Regions from separate parts of the Homo sapiens genome. Here all the other regions are linked to region 1. The links are contacts of gene promoters, found by promoter capture Hi-C in blood cells and fetal thymus (Javierre and others, 2016). All regions are on one chromosome and are shown on one strand. The core of a region is centred on a gene start or on the middle of the fragment in contact, and the rest is flanking DNA. Distances in the headings are between cores, read along the strand shown. Region 1 holds the start of ZNF609 (zinc finger protein 609). Region 2 overlaps ZNF609 (zinc finger protein 609). Region 3 overlaps ZNF609 (zinc finger protein 609).

The links. The method cuts DNA at HindIII sites, captures the fragments that hold promoters and counts their contacts. A CHiCAGO score of 5 or more calls a contact.
Region 2: a contact is called between a fragment that was not itself captured here and the fragment with the promoter of ZNF609 in region 1, in 5 of 17 cell types (M1 macrophages, M2 macrophages, endothelial precursors and 2 more). The highest score is 6.5, in M1 macrophages.
Region 3: a fragment that was not itself captured here is called in contact with the fragment with the promoter of ZNF609 in region 1 in 13 of 17 cell types (naive CD4 T cells, M2 macrophages, non-activated CD4 T cells and 10 more); the score reaches 12.7 in naive CD4 T cells.

What each region holds. Positions count from the first base shown.
Region 1 is chr15:64,458,261-64,462,679 of GRCh38, reverse strand. It overlaps ZNF609 (zinc finger protein 609), which reads right to left and starts at 2,102. Exons shown (of 10, transcript NM_015042.2): 1 at 1,842-2,102. LOC105370861 (a long non-coding RNA gene) reads left to right here and starts at 2,093. Exons shown (of 3, transcript XR_932367.3): 1 at 2,093-2,181. RefSeq lists silencers at 1,771-1,870, 1,931-2,050 and an enhancer at 2,511-2,580. The HindIII fragment of the contact is 12,937 bases long and covers 1-4,419 here.
Region 2 is chr15:64,662,220-64,666,638 of GRCh38, reverse strand. The region is part of intron 3 of ZNF609 (zinc finger protein 609); the gene reads right to left. Among named protein-coding and RNA genes, the nearest start is that of OAZ2, 39 kb to the left of the region's middle. RefSeq lists an enhancer at 1-325. The HindIII fragment of the contact is 7,407 bases long and covers 1-4,419 here.
Region 3 is chr15:64,644,646-64,649,064 of GRCh38, reverse strand. The region is part of intron 3 of ZNF609 (zinc finger protein 609); the gene reads right to left. Among named protein-coding and RNA genes, the nearest start is that of OAZ2, 56 kb to the left of the region's middle. The HindIII fragment of the contact is 5,059 bases long and covers 1-4,419 here.

The sequences.
Region 1 (4,419 bases), core at 853-3,352:
TGTGCTATTATTATTGACCAGGAAGCCACCATTAAAAAGGTACTTGGTTCTTGACTTTTTTATTTTTTATTTTTAAAGAAACAGGGTCTTGCTTTGTTGCCCAGGCTGGTCTTAAACTCCTGGGCTCCAGCCATCCTCTGGCTTCATTCTCCCAAAGTGCCAAGATTACAAGCATGAGCCACCACACCTGGGCTTGACTCCCCATCTTAACACTGCACAGGTTTTTAGTGGTATTCGGAAACAAACAAAAATCACTGCATGAGTGTTCCATTCATATAAAAGAATTAAATATGATGATTCAACTAAGAGTAGAACCTTCCCTTGAAGTCTTCTTCCTTAAGGGTCTGAAACAAACATCGTAGTTGAGTCTACCAGACACTATTCCTTCACAACTTAGTACAGGCTAGCCAAAGAGGCAGGCACAACATGGCTGGCATCCCTTATTCTTCTGAAAAATGTGTGCCAATGAGCTCTGCATTGTTCCTCACTCAAAAAGAAGAGCCTTTCTCTCTGGCCTCCTCCAATGGCAAGCCCCAGTCTGGAAAAGGAAGAAAATGGCACTGAGGAGCCTGGGAGATGGAGCATATCCAAAGCTCTCAGACAAGACTTGAACCTATGACCTTCACTGTGTACACAATAGGCGGGTGAGAGGGACCGGTTTATCTCTGCTGCAGCAGTTCTCAGCCCTGGGGTAGCGCTCCCGATAAAATGACACGACTATTGTGTGTGGCAGCAGAACAGTCATCTCCTCACAACAGCCTAAACCAGCACTCCCTCCCCCAAGACAAAGCAGCAGGGGTGAAATTAACTCAAGGCTGCAGAGCAAAGCCTAATACAGAAAAGGGAGGCCTGTAGGGGCTTGGGGACTCTCCTCAACCCCTTAGGCTCTGGACACATGGCTGGAAACAGACAGGCTTTCTTCCCTATCTTTCTCACTCTCATTTAGGTAGGGAGCTGTTTCTTAGAGAATTTAATCATCCGTGATTTGTTCAGAAATATTCCCCCTGAAGGGCTCTGATCTCTCCACCCTGTGTGAGCCTAATTCCTCGAAGCTGAAATGACTGTTTGCTGCTGCCTGTTTCACAAACACACATTAATTGGTCAGATGTGTCTCCTCCTCCTCAACCCCAGAGGGAGGAAGGAGAATCTGAGCAAAGCACAGAGATGATCCAACCGTAATTACACATAAAGGGAAAAGAGGGCAGCATGGGTTTTCCAAACAGGATAGGGTCACAAACCCTCCCGGGGGTACAAGGATAGCAGTTGAGGTCCAGGCCCAGGGATCCCTCCATCTTGAAGAAAAGGACAGGAGTAAATGTGACCTGAAGACTGTTAGGGGCACACACCCACAACCTACTTACTGCAGGATCCCAGCCACCTTGCTCCCCACTCCTAGGTCACGCACACGTCCTGCTTCCGACCCTATGCTCTGAACAACCACCACCGCCCCCGCCCCCCCTCCCCCGCCAACTCCCTGACTGGCCCCAGTCGCCCCGAGCGCCCTCAACATACCCAGACTCGCCTCAGAAACTCTCTGGCCTGCTCCCATAACCTAGCCAGACCCTAATCCCCTCCCGGGCACCCCTACCCTCAGCCTGAACCGGCCGTGGCCACGCTTTGAACTTCACCCCGCGCCCCTCGACGCCCCCTCCCCCACCCACGCAACGACCCCCCCTACACACCTTCCCCTCGCTCCGCCCCAGCCCCCCCAACCCCCACTTCCTCCGTCAGGCAGCGCCGCCGCCCCCGGCCCCCATCAGATCCCCTCAGCCCCGCGCCCCATCGGTGCCGCCGCCTCTTTCCTCCCCCAGTCCCGGCTCCACACAAAGCTCCGGACTCACCGCGCGGCCGGTCCCGGGAGCCGCCACCTCCGCCCGCCCGGGGCCCCGGGCCGTAGAGCCGCCGCTGCTACGGGGCCCAGGCCGCCATCCGTTCCCGCGGCCCCTCCCCCCCACCCCACCCCGGCTCCGGCTCCGGCTCCGGCTCTGGCTCTCTGCCCCCTCCCCGCGCCTCTCCGCCCCGCCCGGCCGGTGCCGCTGTGTCCGGGGCCGCGGGTCCCTCAGCCGCCGCCACCGCCGCCGCCGCCGCGATCCGGGACAACCAGAGTCACCCGGAAGACGCGGACACTGGACTGCCAGGCCCTCGGATCCGGATTCCGCGCTTGTGTGGAGTCTGGAGCCGGTGAGCGCAGGGGAAACCCGGAACCTGGATGAAGGAGCGAAATCCTGGGTCTCGGAATGCGCGCTCACCCGGAGCCCAGATTAGGGAGTCTTAGCTCAGGGAATGCTGGAAAACCCGGCGTGCCGGTTAGAACCAAGATAAACTCAAAGAAACCTGGATTAGAGAGCTCGAACCTAACGCTGTCCCCTCGTGGGCAGTAGAACTCTCGCTGGATCAGACTTCCTCATAGAGAGGTCTCTGGGGGGAGTATTGCACCTTATAACACAGAAGACACCTCTTCTGTAGTTGTCCTTCAACCACAGAGAGGAAAGGGCCGTAGGGGATCTGAACATGGGCATCCACAAAGAACAGAAGAGCAATCACAGCTCCTGATGGTTTCATCCATTTTACCCCTTAGTTCAGCAAAGTACCAACCTCCTAATTTTTTATCCTTTGTTCTCCAGCTTTCTCTTTTAGGATTACCACTTGCTTTTCTCCCCAAAGCACCCATTTCTAATCCCTCTATATATCCCTTTTCCCCTCACCATCCTCTATCACTAAATCTTGTTGCCTTTTATTATCTAAAAACCTTATTCTGTCCTTCTCCAACCCACCATTCTAAGGATTGTAGCTTTTATTTTTCCTTATCTGCTATTCATCTCTGATTGCCCAGCATACTATCTAGTGCACAGTAGGCATTCAGTCCATGTTTAAGTGAGCCCTCCCACCCAGCTTTCACTTGTGAAACATCTATTCATGACGACCTCCTAAGACTTCCATCTCATTCCATAGCAAACAAATTTACCTTAATTCTCAAGGCCTCCCACATCCTAGCCCCTATTATGTCCTTCCTGTGTCCTTGACCATTTTATTTTGCTTTGCATTTATCTTACCTTTTTTCCCTTATCCTGGGGCATCCTTCAACAGTGCCACTCAAGATAGCATGTGACTTGGAGATAAAGTGAGGTCATAAAAAGGTGGGGGGAGGGGTTGATAGCTAAAGATAAAAGTAAACCTTTCTGGTCTAGGAAAAATAATCTCTCTTTGGTCCACCAATAGTCATGTTGTTAGACAGTACAGGGGCAGAACTGATCCCAGGTGACAGCGAACTTCCAATGTATACTAGACAAAGTTACAAGTGAGGATTCAGCTACTTAGCAGGTGGAGACAGAGAAGGGTTTAGTGTTTTAGACTTAGGCATGATTTAATTAAGGATTAAACATTCCAGTAGTCATCTCCCACTGAAGGAGCATGACTCTGCCATTGGAGAGAACTAGACTGCAAAAATAGGGAACAAAGGAAGGTAAACATTCCTGCAGTGAACTCCAAGTTTCAGCCAGAGAAAGTTCTCAAGCCTCGAAGAACCACTAAAAATTTTCAAGTGATCAGATGTCCCACATAGTAAACAAACCTTAAGTTTTGATTTACTGTTCCTCTAGACCAAGGGTTGGCAAACTGCATCTCACAGGTCAAATCAGGCTCACCACCTGTTTTAACATGTCCCATGAGCTAGAATGATTTTTACATTTTTAAACAGTTAAATAATCAAAATACTATTTCATGATGTGAAAATGATATGAAATTCAAATTTCAGGCCAGGTGCGGTGGCTCACGCCTGTAATCTCAGCACTTTGGGAGGCTGAGGCGGGCGGATCACGTGAGGTCGGGAATTCGAGACCAGGCTGACCAACATGGAGAAACCCCGTAAAAATACAAAAGTAGCCGGGCGTGGTGGTACATGCTTGTAATCCCAGCTACTTGAGAGGCTGAGGCAGGAGAATCGCTTGAACCCGGGAGGCGGAGGTTGCAATGAGCCGAAATCTTGCCACTGCACTCCAGCCTGGGCAACAAGAATGAAACTGTCTTAAAATACAAACAAAAAAATAGTTTTATTGGCTCTAGCCAAGCTCATTCATTTACATTATCATCTATAGATGCATTTTTACTACAACAGCAGAGTTGAACAGTTGAAACAAGGACTGCATGGCCTGTGTAAAGCCTAAAATATTTGCTATCTGACCCTTTACAGAAAGTTTGCCAACCCCTGCTCCAGACAAGCACTATCCAACAGAACTTTTTGCAGCGATGGAAATGTTCTATATCTGTGCTGTCCAATGCAGAAGTCGCTAGCCACATGTAGCTATTTGAGCACTTGAAATATGGTCAACAGTGACTGAATAACTGAATCCTTAATTTCATATAATTGAGATTTTCATAACCACAAGTGGCTAGTGGCTACCATAATAGACAGTACAGCTC
Region 2 (4,419 bases), core at 1,138-3,637, 200 kb before region 1:
TCAGGAGGCTGTGGCAAGAGAACTGCTTGAACCCAGGAGGTGTTCAAGGAGGTGTTGCAGTGAGCTGAGATTGTGCTACTGCACTCCAGCCTCGGCGACAGAGCAAGGCTTCATCTCAAAAAATAAATAAATACAATAAAGTAAAAAAGAAAAATAAAACTATTATGTGCTAGATGTTTTCATATTATCTTATTGAATATTTACAGCCTTAAATCACTTTTATTTTTATTTAATTATTTTTATTTTGGACAGAGTCTCGCTCTGTTGTCCAAGCTAGAGTGCAGTAGTGCAATCTTGGCTCACTGCAACCTCCGCCTCCCAGGTTCAAGCAATTCTTGTGCCTCAGCCTCCCAAGTAGCTGGGATTACAGGCGTGTGCCACCATGCATGGCTGATTTTTGTGTTTTTAGTAAAGACAGGGTTATACCATGTTGGCCAGGCTGGTTTTGAACTCCTGGCCCCAAGCGATCCACCCAACTTGGTCTCCCAAAGTGCTGAGATTACAGTAGTCACTAGGCCAATCACTTTTATTTTTATTTGTGTGTGTGTGTTTTTTTTTTTTTTTGAGACGAAGTCTTGCTCTGTTGCCCAGGGTGGAGTGCAGTGGCGCAATCCCTACTCACTGCAACCTCCGCCTCCTGGGTTCAAGCGATTCTCCTGCCTCAGCCTCCTGAGTAGCTGGCATTTGTTTATTTATTTTTTAATTTAATTTTTAATTTTAATTTTTATTTTTGAGATGGAGTTTTGCTCTTGTTGCCTAGACTGGAGTGCAATGGCGTGATCTTGGGTCATCGCAACCTCCGCCTCCCAGGTTCAAGCAATTCTCCTGCCTCAGCCTCCCGAGTAGCTGGGATTACAGGCATGTACCACCACGCCCAGCTAATTTTATATTTTTAGTAGATATGGGGTTTCTCCATGTTGAGGCTGGTCTCAAACTCCTGACCTCAGGTGATCTGCCTGCCTCGGCCTTCCAAAGTGCTGGGATTACAGGCATGCGCCACCGGGCCCGGCCCATTTGTTTACTTTTTATAATTTTTTCTGTTTGTTTAAAAATAGAGACAGAGTCTCACTATGTTACCCAGGCTGGTTTCAACTCCTGGTCTCAAGTGATCCTCCTGCCTTGGTTTCCTAAAGAGCTGGGATTACAGGCATGAGCCACGGCACCTGGTCTTAAATCACTTTTTGAGGAAGGCAGGCCATAAGTGGGTGCCAAAAATCCTGTCATATAAGGATTGTTAAGGCTACTTTGCAAAGGAGGAAATGATACACCAGAAAGGATAAATCATTTACTCAAGGGTTCACTATTAGTGGTCAGATCTTTCAGACTCTAAGGCCTGACACAGCTATCTCTAATGGATTCTGATTGTTTTCACACAATTTTCTTAGAATATCCTGTTACCTTCACCTTAGATAAAAGACACATACACATACAGGATTGCAGGGGGTCATCCAGAGGGGAAAAGGATAGGAATCCTATCCCTTTGCAGTGCCCTGGCATCTTAAGGGAAATGGCATCTCTCCTAAAGAAGTAATTAGGCTAAATTCTCTCTAGCTATTAGCAAAGTGATTTCAAATGGATGTCTCCCCCAAAAGGTGGCCTGCTCTGATTACTGCATAATCAATTTAATAGGAACAGAGTCCATTTATAGAGAAGGTAAGACTTAGAGATAGGCATCTCATTTATAAGGGCAGATGAGCACAGCTGTACACAGAGAGCAGGCACACAACTAGAAGATGAATCTCATTACTATTCTTGAAACAGCTGGGTGGGAACACATGTTTATAAATCAGGCTTCTTCCTTTGGTATAATCTGCAAACTTTAGCAATAATGAATGAGCTGAAGAGAAGACAGGTCAAACAAGGTGCTGGAAATGGGAGAAGGGAAGAGAAAAAATTATGATATGGAAAGACAAAATGGAGGCTTGTTTAAATGTCAAAGGAAACACACATTGATGAGGTTTAATAGTCTTCCTGCAAGGTTCCGAGTTGAGACAGCTGGAGAATAGGACGACAGGAAAGAAAAGCAGCAAATAACACTTAACAGACCAAGTTTCTCTATTAGGGGCTAGCTTTAGAGAAGCAAGTAGGCTGAAGAGAAAGAAAAACTGGTCTTCATCTTGGAAAACTTACTATTTTTCATAAGTGTTCACAAAATAAGGAAAGGCTCAGCATGTTTGAGGATAATACTGCTAAAAAACAGCAGTAATAAATAGTGCTCCGTGTTTCTCTAGAATCTTACTTTCAGATTTACCAAGTCTTATGGACATAATCTAAGTACCCATTATTAAGTTTTAGAGTACTCACTATTCTCCCTTCTTCAAGGTGATAAATATTGGAGCAGAGTAAAGGGAAAATGATGACATGTATGAGGCACTAGTCAGGTTCCCCTAGTTATTATTATTATTATTTTTGAGACAGAGACTCACTGTGTCACCCAGGCTGGAGTGCAGTGGTGCAATCTCGGCTCACTCCAGCCTCTGCCTCCCAGGCTCAAGCAATACTCCTGCCTCAGCCTCCCAAGCAGCTGGGATTACAGGTGTGCACCACCACACCTCGTTAATTTTTGTATTATTAGTAGAGATACTGTTTCACCATGTTGGTCAGGCTGGTCTCGAAGTCCTGCCTCAGGTGATCCACCTGCCTCGGGCTCCCAAAGTGCTGGGATTACAGGCATGAGCCACCACGACTGGCCAGGTTCCCACAGTTCTTAGGAGTGAAATGCTGAGACAAACTCAATCCCAAAGCAGCACTGCTTTGTTTCAGATAATAATTCAAAACCTCAAAACATTTGTGTAGTCAAGGCTGATCCAAGTATAATAGTAGAAAGAGAGAGAGAGATTTTTTTCTAGGCCCCTCATTTTTACTATTTCCATTAGTACATACTTTCTCTCAGGGATCTGGTACCTTCATGCTCAGCTCCTTCATGCTCAGACCAATTCCCTTCTTGAAACGCTTCCTTCACTTGGCTTCCAGAACACCATACTCTCCTGGTTTTCCTCCTATCTCTCTGGTCATTCCTCAGCATCTTTTGCTGGTACTTCATGTGTAGCTGATGACTCAAACTTCTATCCCTAGCCCCAACCTCTCCCCTAAACTCCAGATTCATGTATCTAATCACAAACTTGACATTTCCATTGGACGTCTAAATGGAGATCTCAAACTTAATATGTTCCAAACTGAGCTCCTGATACCCATCCTCTCCTTAACAACCCTCTCCTCCAAGAACAACAAAAACAACTTGCTCTGAATTCTCCCTATCTGAGGTAATGGCATGTGTACATCCTTCTAGGTGTTCAGGTCAAAACCCTTAGAGTTTTACTTGGTTCCTCTCCTACTATCCATGTCCCCACACCTGACCATCAGCAAATCTTTTTGGCTCAACCTTCAAAATATATCCAGATTTTGATCATTTCTCATTACCTCCACTTCTACTGCTCCAAGCACTCCTTAAATTATTGCAATAGCTTCCTAACTTGCTTCCATCTTTATCACTTTCTGACCTGTTCTCAACACAGAGACCAGAGAGATCCTGTTAAATAAAACCTCTCATATCCTATCATTTCTCTGTATAAAACCTTTTAGCTTTTGAACTCATACATACAGGTATAGGTGATACATACATCTGTATGTATCACCTATTCCCAAAAAAACACATAAAAATAGTTATTAGTTAGCCAAGCACGGTGGCTCATGCCTGTAATCTCAGCAATTTGGGAGGCCGAGGCAGGTGGATCATCTTAGGTCCGGAGTTCAAGACCAGCCTGGTCAACATGGTGAAACCCCATCTTTACTAAAAATACAAAAATTAGCCGGGCAGTAGTGGCGCGTGCCTGTAATCCCAGCTCCTGAGGAGGCTGAGGCAAGAGAATCGCGTGAGCCTGGGAGGCAGAGGTTGTGGTGATCCGAGATCGCGCCACTGCACTCCCGTCTGGGCAACAGAAAGAGACCCTGTCTCAAGAAAAAAAAAATTATTAGTTTTAGTAGAAATATCTCAATGTTTTAAAAATGCTTCATGGCCAAGCATGGTGGCTCATGCCTGTAATCTCAGCATTTTGGGAGGCCAAGGTGGGAGGATTGCTTGAGCATAGGAATTCGAAACTAGCCTGGGCAATGTAGTGAGACCCTGTCTCTAAAAAATTCTTTAAATTATCTGGGCTTGTTGGCATGTGCCTGTAGTGCCAACTACTATGGAGGCTGACATGGGGGGATCACTTGAGCCCGGGAGATCTAGGCTGTAATGAGTTGAGATGTTGCCCCTGCACTCCAGCCTAATTCACAGAGGAAAAAAAAAAGATGGGGCCTAATTCTCATCCCCTGGAGTGTGAGCTGCCTTTAGCAACTTGCAGAAGTGATGGTGCATGACTTTTGAGACAAGGTGATAAAAGGTATTATTGGGGGTTCCTCCTTGCTTTCTCTCTG
Region 3 (4,419 bases), core at 1,165-3,664, 190 kb before region 1:
CCAACCAAAGCTGGAGTCATTTCAAATTCTTTCTCTTATGTATGTCTTGCTCCCAGACAAAATTTGCTGTATACTTTGCAGTAAGTATCCATCTTCCTTTTCCACCTATGAAATGAACAATTAGAAGCATCCTAGACCTTAACTGTTACTACACACTGAATCTGGCCACTAAAGTAAGATTCAGACTCCAATATAATCCCACTAAAATTGTGGAAGAAGTTTCCCAAGTCCTAATGATACAGAAAGGATGCTTAGTCCCAGATACAACGGGTTACATATTTGGTTGCTTTCCCTAATTTTTTTTTTTTTTTTTTTTTTTGGTATGTGGTGGTGGTCAGACAGTATTTCCAATAATGCATACAACTTATTGTGCTTTAACATCTTCTATATATTATCTCATATTTAATTCTCTCACCAACCTCCAATGTATAATCATTCCCATTTTACAGACGAGGAACTGGAAACTCAGAGCAATCTGTTCCAATGTTATATAGCTAAATAAGATGCAAAAGCTAGGATCTGAATCCCAATCAATATGACTCTCAACTAAAGCCTGTATGGTTTGTTTTGTTTGAGGTTAAGTCTCACTCTGTCGCCCAGGCTGGAGTGCGGTGGCATGATCATAACTCACTGCAACCTCAAACTTCTGGCCTCAAGAAGTCCTCCCACCTCAGCCTCCCAAATAGCTGGGACTACAGGTGTATGACACCATGCCTGGCTAATTTTTATTTTTAAGTTTTCAGTAGAGACAAGGTTTTGCTATGTTGCCCAGTCTGGTCTCAAACTTATGGGCTCAAGCGATCCTCCTGTCTGGCCTCCCAAAGTATTGAGATTACAGGTGTAAACCATACTGCATGGCCTTATACGTATTTTTAACTACGCTGCCTCACAAGATAAGATTACACTTTCTTGGTTCTCAGGAGCTCGTATTTTCGGTGTAAAACACTAAATGGTTTACGCACTGCACTTGAGAATAAAACTGTGGACTAAAGCAAAAGACATCAACACCTGTAGGTTTATTTTGGGCTGAGAAGCAGGTTATTGATTTTACGTTTGACCTATTTCTACCAGAAAAGAAACAGATGCAGCAATAAAGCTACATACTGGTGGCAAAGTGAAAGACACACAGAACAGGTGGAAGAAGCAAAAAGAAAATGTCCAAGTAGGCAAAATGCAGCAAGAGGATAAAAAGAGAAAAGGGAGTTTGGACAAAAACCGAAAAGTCCAAAGCTGCAAGGTTATTATTATGAAACACATAATGTGTCTCCTTGGTATGTGAGGTACTTTATTGATGATGTAAAAAATGAAGCTCAGCTCTTGAAGAGCTAGAAAATTTAAGAAGTATCTTTTTTTAAACCATATAAAAGATATAATGACTAAGTCCATTATGATACATCCTTAACATGGAATACTCTGTAGTTATTTAAAATGTTATAGAAGGTCATTTAATGTTATGGAAATATGTTACAGGAATATATTTCTCTAAACAAAGAAGATTACGAAATATATAGAGAAGGGTCTCAATTTGTTAAAAATATAAAATAAAAGAAGCAACAAAAATATATAATATAAAAATTCAAACATTGGTTATCTCTGGGTAATTTATTCTTTTCCTCTTGGTGAATTTTGACTTTGTCTCCTAAATGTTCAACAATAAAAATTGTTACTTTTTCCTTTTGAACCATCACAATATCTAAAACTTTTTCATCACCTGAAATAGAAACTTTGTAGCCATTAAGCAATAATTCTCCATTCCCTATGCTCCCCACGGCCCTTAATATTCTTTCTGTCTATATAAATGTATCCATTCTAGATACCTAAGTGGAAAAAATACAATATTTGTCCTTTCGTGACTGGCTTATTTCACTTAACATGTATTTTCAAGGTTCATCCACATTGTAGAATCAGAACTTCATTTTTTTTTTTTTGGAGACAGGGTCTCACTCTGTCCCCCAGGCTGGATGGCAGTGGTGTGATCACAGCTCAAGCAATCCACCTGCCTCAGCCTCCTGAGTAGCTGGGAGTACTAAGTAAGCCTAACTGACAACATCCTATACAGTGATAATGAGTTTATCACTGCACGTGTTACCATACCAGGTTGATTTTTTTTTTTTTTTTTTTTTTTGAGACAGAGTCTCCCTCTGTCATCCAGGCTGAAGTGCCATGGCATGATCTCGGCTCACTGCAACCTCTGCCTCCCAGGTTCAAGCGATTCTCCTGCCTCAGCCTCCCGAGTAGCTGGTACTACAGGCATGCGCCACCATGCCCAGCTAATTTTTTGTATTTTTAGTAGAGATGGGGTTTCACCATGTTGGCCAGGCTGGTCTCGAACTCCTGACCTCAAGTGATCCGCCCGTCTTGGCCTCCCAAAGTGCTAGGATTACAGGCGTGAGCCACCGTGCCCAGTTTTTTTTTTTTTTTTTTTTTTTTGAGATGGAGTCTTGTTTCCATTGTGCAGGCTGGAGTGCAGTGGCACGATCTTGGCTCACTGCAACCTCTACCTCCCAGGTTCAAGCGATTCTCCTTCCTCAGCCTCCCGTGTAGCTAGGGTTACAGGTGTGTGCCACCAAACTTGGCTAATTTTTTTTGTATTTTTAGTAGAGATGGGGTTTTGCCATGTTGGCTAGGCTGGTCTCGAACTCCTGACCTCTGCTGATCCACCCACCTCGGCCTCCCAAAGTGCTAGGATTACAGACATAAGCCACCATGCCTGGCCGCCATTTTGTATTTTTTTCTAGAGATGCAGTCTTGCTATGTTGCCCAGGCTGGTCTTGAATTCCTGGGCTCAAGTGATCCTCCCATCTCAGCCTCCCAAAGTGCTGGGATTAGAGGCATGAGTCACTGTACCAGCTTTCATTTCTTTTTGTTTGCTGAATAATATTCCATTGTATGGCTATACCACATTGTTTATCCATTCATCTGTTGATGGACACTTGGGTTATTTCTACCTTCTGAATATTGTGAATAATACTGTCATATATTCACATACAAGTTTTTGTGTGAACATCTGTTTTCCATTCTTTTAAGTATATACCTAGGAGTAGAATTGCTGGATCATATGTTAATTCTGTTTAGCTTTTTGAGGATCCACCAAACTGTTTTCCACAATGGCTTGTACTCATTTTATGTTCCAACCAACAGTTCTCAAGGGTTCCAATTTCTCCACATCCTCTTGAACACTTTTTATTTTCCACATTTTTGATAACAACCATCCTAGTAGGTATGAAGTGGTAATTCATCATGGTTTTTATGTTCATTTCTCTTATAATTAATGATTCTGAGCATCTTTTCATGTGATTATTGGTCATTTAGATATCTTCTTTGGCAAAATGTCTATTCAAGTCTTACGCGCATTTTTGAATTAGGTTGTTTGGGTTTTTCATTGTTGATCTGTAGGAGTTCTTTATTCTAGATATTAATCACTTATCAGATACACGATTTGCAAATATTTTCTCTCATTCTATCTTTATTCTCTTGGTAGTATCCTTTGATAAACAAAAGTTATTAGTTTTGATGAAATCCAATTTATCTAATTTTTCTTTTGCTGGCTTGTGCTTTTGGTGTCATAGCTAAAAAATCAGGCATTACTTTTGAAATAATAAAATAATTTCAAAAATTAAAAAAAAAAATCAGAGGAAAAAACAGTTGCTAGTTGTGGGGCAGAAAATGTAGGACGCCGAGTGCAATGGCTCATGCCTGTAATCCCAGCATTTTGGGAGGCTGTGGTAGGCAGATCACTTGAGCCCAGGAGTTCAACACCAGCCTAAGTAACATGGTGAGACCCCATCTCTACAAAAAATAGAAAAATTAGCCGAGCATGGTGGCACACGCCTGTAGTCTCAGCTACCTAGAGGGTTGAGGTAGGAGGATATCTTGAGCTCAGGAGATGGAGGTGGCTGTGAGCCAAGACTGCACCACTGTACTCCAGCCTGAGGAAGGAAGGAAGGAAGGAAGGAAGGGAGGGAGGGAGGGAGGGAGGGAAAGAAAGGAAGGAAGGAAGGAAGGAAGAAAGGAAGAAAGAAAGGAAGGAAGAAAGGAAGGAAGGAAGGAAGGAAGAAAGAAAGAAAGAAAGAAAGAAAGAAAAAGAAAGAAAGAAGAAAAGAAAAGAAAGAGAGAGAAAATTTAGGAGAAGATATAGCTCATTATCTCTGAAATTATGCTTTGAATTCAAAGCACAGTAAGGGTAGCTAACAAAGTCTGTTTTAAGCATTCATACTCCTCTTCTTATTATAATGTGACTTAGTAGATGATTGCCTGGTCCAAAGACATGTATAATAAAAACAAAGCTACCCATTGGATCAAGAGCTCATCCATCAATTTTGCCCACCATCTATGGATGGCATTGCAGGTCACTTGGATAGTATCCACTTTGGACTTACATGCAAGACTTAGCAACAGTCCTTGGGCACCAAACCATTT